2 separate regions of the Homo sapiens genome follow, and region 2 is linked to region 1. Evidence: promoter capture Hi-C in 16 types of primary human blood cells and fetal thymus (Javierre and others, 2016). All regions are on one chromosome and are shown on one strand. Each heading gives the region's core, a stretch centred on a gene start or on the middle of the fragment in contact. The rest is flanking DNA. Distances are from core to core; before and after follow the strand shown. Region 1 holds the start of PUS3 (pseudouridine synthase 3). Region 2 holds the start of ZNF202 (zinc finger protein 202).

Region 1 (3,495 bases), core at 608-3,107:
AGGTTGGGTTTCCTGTATGAGTTACCCTAAAATTGGAGATTTTCTGTATTCCCTGTACATGCAGTTTCTCTTTCCTAGGCCTCTAGTTTAGAGTTGGGCAGTACTTGGGGCTCACGGCACCAACAAGGGGAGGGTGGCTAGGAAAGTGCGCTGGCAAATGGATGGAAGCGAGGTGAGGCTTAATGGGCAAATGGGCAGAGTAGAAAACTCGGGGTCTAGCTGGGACTACCAGCTGCGTTCCCACCCTGGATTTCCAGGGGTCGTCATTTTTGCCCTTTCTAACCAAAGGTCTTGCCTCTCGTGGGGGTGGGGACGGGGTCTCCCTCTGTGGCCCTCTTCCAAACCCTTCCCGCATCTCCCCTCCAGCATCTGACGCCCCACTTCGAACGCTCGCGGGCTCTCCCTCCCCTCCCAGCCGATCTCCCTCTGCGAGTGGGAGCTCCACCCCCGCGGCTGTGGCCCCCCGGCTCGGTGGCGGTTACGTGGCTGTTCAGCCGCTCGCTCTCCGCCGCCCCTGCGTCGCCTCCCCACAGTAACGACGCCATGGCTGCGATTGCTGCTCCCGCCCCCAGCACGTGCTTCCACCACCGGCGCGAGGCGGTGCTGGCCCCATCCGCTGGCCAATGGGCTTCCTTAGGGGGCAGGCGTCCGCGTCCGCGCCCGCGACCACCGCGGTGCGGCGCGCAGGCGCTGGAAGGCTGGGTGGCGCGCGGAAGGGGCGGAGGGCAGAGAGCGGGGCGGGGGGCAGAGAGCGGGGCGGAGGGCAGAGAGCGGGGCGGAGGGCAGAGAGCGGGGCGAAAGGGCGCGGACCGGAGGGCAGAGGGGGCAGCTTCCGCAGAGTGGAGAGCGCCCCCCGCGCCGCCCCGCGGCCCGCCGCTCACACAGCCCTCCAGGCGGGAGCCCCCCGGACTCCCCGCCGCGCTTTACGCCCCGTGTCGGTTTCCCTGGAAATTTCCGCCTCCACATCACAAGATGTCAGAAAGGTTAGCGAATTGGTTAGCAAAGTGGAGACAAAATCTGATGAATTTGATATGACGAATGACCTCGAATGCCACAGTTGCGGAAAGGAAGCAGAACTGTTCAAGCTCTAACTGCTGTTCCTGCCCTAGATACCTGTGATGTTCCACATAGGCTTTTTAAAGCTTTTATTCTGAAATGTGGTCTCTTGTTAAAAACATTACCTTTCGGTATAACCTCTACGTCCTACATGCGTTTGCATAATCCGGTATAGATCCCTGGATCCCTGGTACTAATGATTTAATGACCGCTCAATTTGGACGAAAGAACCAAATTCCACCTCCCCCCCGCCCCCCAGTTTTCTAATTGTAATTTTGAGATTTTGATCAGCATTTCTGGAATTGGGGGCAAAAATACAAAAACCCACACGAAACTGCAGTCATGATCTCTCCGTGGTGCTGAAGCAACGCTCCCCGCTCTGTTCGGTCACTCTCAGGGCACCTAGTCGTTTGTTTTGAGATTATCATATTCATTTCAGCTTTTAATTTGAATTCTAATAGTAAATGTTTTTGTCTCTCAATGGTAACTTTCTTCTCATTTAACTAGGTATAAAATCGAGCCAAGATCTTCAATCTTTTAGTTTTCGTATAAGGATAGCAGAATTTGAAAAATTACCTTTTTTCTATTATTTTAGCGTAGCACTACAATTCCTCCTTTTATTGCTGTCCCGCCACAGGCCCAGATTCTGCCCTGTGGGCGGAGAAACGGTAGCTGGACTAGAAAACCTCAGGTAGATTCTAGCACCAAGCTCGGTTCTCAGAACTACATTTCCCACAAACTTGGACTACACCTCCCATGAGGGCTCGGGCGCCTGCGCAGAAGACGCACAGTGACAGCTTCCTTTCTCGGAAACGCGGCGCGGCCGGCTGCCGGAAAGTAAGTGTGGGATTTTTGGAGTGGGTTACTTTCTGGGTTCCACAGGGGAAGGGACAAATGGACACACTGCTGAACGGTTGTCTGTTGTCTTCTTTTTGCCCTCTTTCACATACTTTGGTCTTTTCAGGAAAGCATTGCCGTATGGAAATGAGACCTCGCTTAAGACCATGTATTTTTCTTTTGTGCCTGGTACTTTCTGGAGCTCTCGGTGGAAACTCGCCGCAGTAGGGTCGTCTTTAATTCCGTTGTGACGGGAGCTTCAGTGGTACTTGTACTGTGGAGTACAAAAGTGCTCTGCTGCCCCACTTAGAATTGGGTGCTCATAAAACAGTAGAAGTTGAGAACCCAGGAGTATGTGGGAGGCTGTGGCAGCAATTTTCAAATTATTTTGGGGATTGCCTTACATACAGACCACGATTGCTTTCTAGTGATCATAGTGCGTGTCTGCTAATCCTTTGGACAGTACTCCCTCTTCTTCCCTTTGGATTAATATAAAGTTTATCAAGAGGAATGCTATTTATGTGTTAACCCACTGGTTCCTGAGATTAGGACTTTTTTTTTTTTTTTTTTAAGACTGTCGCCCAGGCTGAGTGAAGTGGCGTGATCACTGCTCACTGCAGCCTCTACCTCCTGGGCTCAAGCGATCCTTCCACCTCAGCCTCCAACTAGCTGGGACTGCAGGCGTGCGCCATCTTGGCAGCCTAGTTTTTAATTTTTTAATTAACACACGGTCTCGCTGTGTTGCCCAGGTTGGTCTCGAACTCCTGACTTCGAGCGACCCCCCCTCCCCCCCGCCACCACCCCGTCTTGGCCTCTCAAAATGTTGGGATGACAGGCGTGAGCCACGGCGCCTGGCCCAATGTATGGAACATCTGGTGATGGCCGTTTTAGTTTGTAATTGGTGCTTAGGGGACACACGAATTCCCTCTCTGTGGTTACTTCGCAGCCCTGGCCAGGGTGTTACTTTAAACGTCTGCTTGGGAACTCCTGCACTTCACCCTGAATTAGGGTAAGGTGTGCTGGAAAAAGCACTGTAGTGTACCAAGTCCTGTTTTTGCCACAAATCTGCCTTATGACCAACTAGACTCACTCCCTGGCCTAGTTCTTTAGTTAGCACGGGAGTTGAACTTTGGAGACTTTGGTAATGTTGGACTTTGAGATCCAAATAATCACTGGAGTGTTTTGCATGTTAAAATCACCATGTAATTTTTGACCTCATAAAAAGTCGAGGTATAAATACAAATTACCTTTAATCCCACTACTCGTTAGGTTTTGATCTTTCCCTGTGTGTACTGAGATCATCCTGTATAGTTTATGATACATTCATGTCACTTAATTTCACCTTCCCATATTACTTTCCCAAGATTCCCAATGACTATTTAATATTCTAATGTCTTTAAAGACATTTACTATTCCACTGTTGGTGGACAGTTTGCAGTTTCTACTTTTTTGCGGTGAGTATATCCTACATGTACCTGAGTCATTGATTACTTCTTTTCCAGACAAATGCCTAACAAATAGAACTGGGTGAATGTGTGAATTATGTGGCTTTAAATGTTACAGGGAAAATGATTTTCGCAGATAGTAACGGTCAAGGTCATT
Region 2 (3,657 bases), core at 903-3,402, 2.2 Mb after region 1:
GCCAGAATCCGCCTTAAGCCTGATGTTTCCCCTTAGTAATTTTCAATCCATCGACGTCCCAAACTCCAAAAAAAGTTCCTTGACTATAAATTCCCACTTGCCCATTCTGTATTCAGAGTTCAGCCCAATCTCTCATCCCTACAGCAAGACTTCATTGCAGTGGTTTCTTTACCTTTCCTGGTCCTGAATAAGGTCTCCCTTACCATGCTCTAACAAGTATCACTGAATAATTTTTCCTTTAACACTGTAATGCATTAAATGTTTAGAAGAAGATGTTTATGTATTATTTATGCACTTAATACCAATATTTTAAAATATTCAATGAGATTTACAGAGAAAAATATTTGGTACACAGTAGGCTTTCATGAAATGTATATTTCTCTTTGTATTGGGTAATTTTATGTGTCAACTTGACTAGCTAAGGGATGCCCAGACAACAGAAAACATTATTAGTCGGTGTGTCTGTGAGGGTGTTTCTGGCCAATATGGTGAAACCCCCTCTCTACTAAAAATACACACACACAAAAAAAAAATAGCTGGGCATGGTGGCACATGCCTGTAATCCCAGCTATTCGGGAGGCTGAGGCAGGAGAATTGCTTGAACCCAGGAGGCAGACATTGCAGTAAGCCGAGATCGCTGGGCGACAGAGCAAGACTCTGTCCAAAAAAAAAAAAAAAAAAAAAAAAGAGAGAGAGATTAGCATTTGAATCAGTAGACTGAGTAAAGAAAATCACTCTCACCACTATGCGTAGGCACCATCCAATCCATTGAGGGCCCAAATAGTATAAAAAGGCAGAGGAAAAGTAAATTCACCTCTCTCTTCTTGAGCTGGGACATCATCTCCTCCTGCTCTCTGGCCTTCAGACACCAGCACCTCAATCCCTTTCCAGTTCTCAGGCCTTCAGCTTTAGACTGAATTATACCACCAACCTCCTTATTTCTCCAGCTTGCAGTAAGCAGATGGTGGGACTTCTCAACGTCCATAATTATGTAAGCCAACTCCTTATAATAAATCTCCTTTTATATGTTTATACATACCCCGTGTGAAAGGAAAGTGATTTGGGGCCCCCAAAATCACTAAAGGGAAAATTCATGCTGGGAACTGCTTAGGGCAAACCTGCCTCCCCTTCTATTCAAAGTCACCTCTCTGCTCACTGAGATAAATGCATATCTGATTGCCTCCTTCCGGAGAGGCTAATCAGCAACTCAATGCAACCATTTGTGTCTTATCTACCTATGACCTGGAAGCCCCCTCCCCGCTTTGAGTTGTCCTGCCTTCTGGGTTCACACCTATTAGTTCTGTTTCGCTAATACACTGCCACTCCACCAAAAGTAACTAATCCTTTGGTTCAAACCCAGTAAACAGATCCCAGCAATGTGTCCCATGAAAAGGAAGTGGCACATGGCACGTGGAGAGTGGTGACTTACAGGGTAAAAGGGACAGAGAGCAAAGGAAAATGTCAAGTATGGGCAGAAAGGTCACCGAACGGACAAAAATGAACAAATGAGATCAGGGAAGACAGCCTGAAAGTAAAGAAATACGAAGCAACACTCAAAGGAAAAGAAAGAACAGTGATACCATAACTATTTTCTTTCTGAGCTTCTGATGTTCCATTCAGTTCATGTGCAATGTATCATTTAGTCCTCAGAGTAACGGTATTATTATGCCCGTTTTATATGATGCACAATAGGGTTCAAAGATGGAGAGATTCGGCCGAGGCCCTGCTGCTGATGGTGACTGCAAGAGCCAGTATTCAAACCTAACGCTGCCCTTTTCTACCATGTTGCAGCGGACAATGCAAAGAAAAAAAAATCAAGAAAAACACGTAGAGGTATCCAAATGAAAACAAACACACAAAAGATCAAAAACAGAAAAGAAAAAAGAAAAGAAAAAGAAAACCCTTGCAGAAGGTATGCCTGTAAATGAAAGGCCCAAGATGTTAATTTATTCGCTGCAGAGTGGAGTTAGGGGTCGCGGACGGCAGCTGTGGGGTCCGAGGCTTCTTCGCACTGGGTCCTTGGGGAGCACTGAGCCGCAACCCGCGGAGGGCGCATAGAGAGGATCAAACCTCCCACAGCCTAGAAAGGCTCCTACTCGGCGAGAAGGCGGGGCGAGCGATCGCTTCCGGTTCCGGGCGCAAAGGCCCCACGTGTTCCGACCCGCTAGGCCCCGCGCGGCTCGGATCCGGCGGCGCTGTTTCGGTCGGGAGTGGGTGGGAGAGAAGCCGGGGCAGGGGAGGAGCCGCCGGAGCTGTCGGAGCCGTGAGTCCTGAGTGGGCTGGGCTGGGCCGGGCCGGGCTGGACCGGGCCGGACCAGATCGGGCAGAGCCGGGCAGGGCGGGGAGGAGGGGGAGGGACCGGAGACCCCGCCCCCCAGAGTCTGGGGAAATCGCCGTGTCCTGGGGAAGGGGTGGCGGCGGTGTACTGAGGGTGCCGAGACGTTGTGGTCTCTGTGTTTCCTGGTGGCCGGAGCCAGTATCTCCGGGGACACGGATGGCGCTCCCGGCTTCCTTTCCTTTCCAGCCACCGCCCTCCGCCCCCTCCTGGGGCCTGCAGAAATGTAGTTAGTCCGTACCTCGTACCTCCTAACGCTTCCGCGCCAACTGTCCCCCCGGAACCGAGGGAGGAGTGGTCTAGGCCCCTTTATTTTCCGCAGCTTTTTCTTACCCCTCCTCTCAGATTGCTTAAGATCATCTCCGCGGGCTCCTTGCCCCGGCTAGCCCCATCTCCTTACACCACCAAGCCCCCCTCAGCCCCCCAGCACACACCCAGATACACTCACCCGTGATCTTGTCACCTGTGATGATAGTAGTCCTTGGCGTCCATTTGGCCAGAGGCTTTTCAGCTGCCACTGTGACAGACCCTGAGGTCCCCTCAAGCCAGTAGCTGCTGTCTCCACTTGCAACTTTCCTCTCCTCCCACTCCTAACAGCCAGTTTTGGCACCTCTTCTCAGCACCTGCGTTACTTTTAGCAGGAGTATACCTACTTCTTGAGTGTCTTGATTAAAAATTTGTTTTTGTGCCATGGATAGGCTGTGTTCCTTCAGAAAGGTGTCAGTCTAATTTTTGTTTTTCTGAACAATGAATGTTCTCATCTTCTAGGCGCTTTGATAACCCTGTCTGCCTTGGAATCTGTACTGACCTCCCCAGAGGGAGACTCTTAGACCCAGCCTTTCTTGAACAACCTTGGTCCTGGGGAGCAGCGCTAGATCCCAGGCTCTCAATTAGAGGCTGGGCTTAGAACTGTTGCTTTTTCTCTATCCACGCTCTGCAGGTGACACCCAGGGCAGCTACACTCAGAAGCCACAAGGAATGCTAGTGGAGCCCCTCATCCCTCCCAGCTTCTCTTCCAAGCTGCCCCGTGGGGCTTGATCCAGGAAGCTACTTCAGAAAGGTTGTGGGATAGCCTTGGGAGGAGGTTTGTTGGTGGGAAGCGTGTGAACGCGGAGCAGTCTGGGATAACTTTCTGCTGTTACTATCTAGCATAAGAGGGTGGGCAGGGTTGGAGAGAGGACAGGAATTTTTCCTCCTAGGACCAAACGCCTGGGATTCATAATCTTTCACCCTTTCTCCTCCAGCTATACCCTTTTTGTACTCTGTGTATATACTATATTGCAGTAGACAATCATTCCAAGGGTACAACAAGGTTTACCACA

The links. Contacts are between HindIII fragments. The CHiCAGO score rates a contact against its expected background, and 5 or more counts as called.
Region 2: the fragment with the promoter of ZNF202 here is called in contact with the fragment with the promoter of PUS3 in region 1 in 1 of 17 cell types (naive CD4 T cells); the score reaches 6.4 in naive CD4 T cells.

What each region holds. Positions count from the first base shown.
Region 1 is chr11:125,901,568-125,905,062 of GRCh38, reverse strand. It overlaps PUS3 (pseudouridine synthase 3), which reads left to right and starts at 1,857. Exons shown (of 4, transcript NM_031307.4): 1 at 1,857-1,893. DDX25 (DEAD-box helicase 25) reads right to left here and starts at 555. Exons shown (of 12, transcript NM_013264.5): 1 at 483-555. The coding sequence starts at 545. The HindIII fragment of the contact is 3,679 bases long and covers 1,145-3,495 here.
Region 2 is chr11:123,740,155-123,743,811 of GRCh38, reverse strand. ZNF202 (zinc finger protein 202) reads left to right here and starts at 2,152. Exons shown (of 9, transcript NM_003455.4): 1 at 2,152-2,263; 2 at 3,276-3,395; 3 at 3,620-3,657. RefSeq lists enhancers at 970-1,567, 2,557-2,766 and silencers at 2,157-2,206, 2,247-2,376. The HindIII fragment of the contact is 6,844 bases long and covers 1-3,657 here.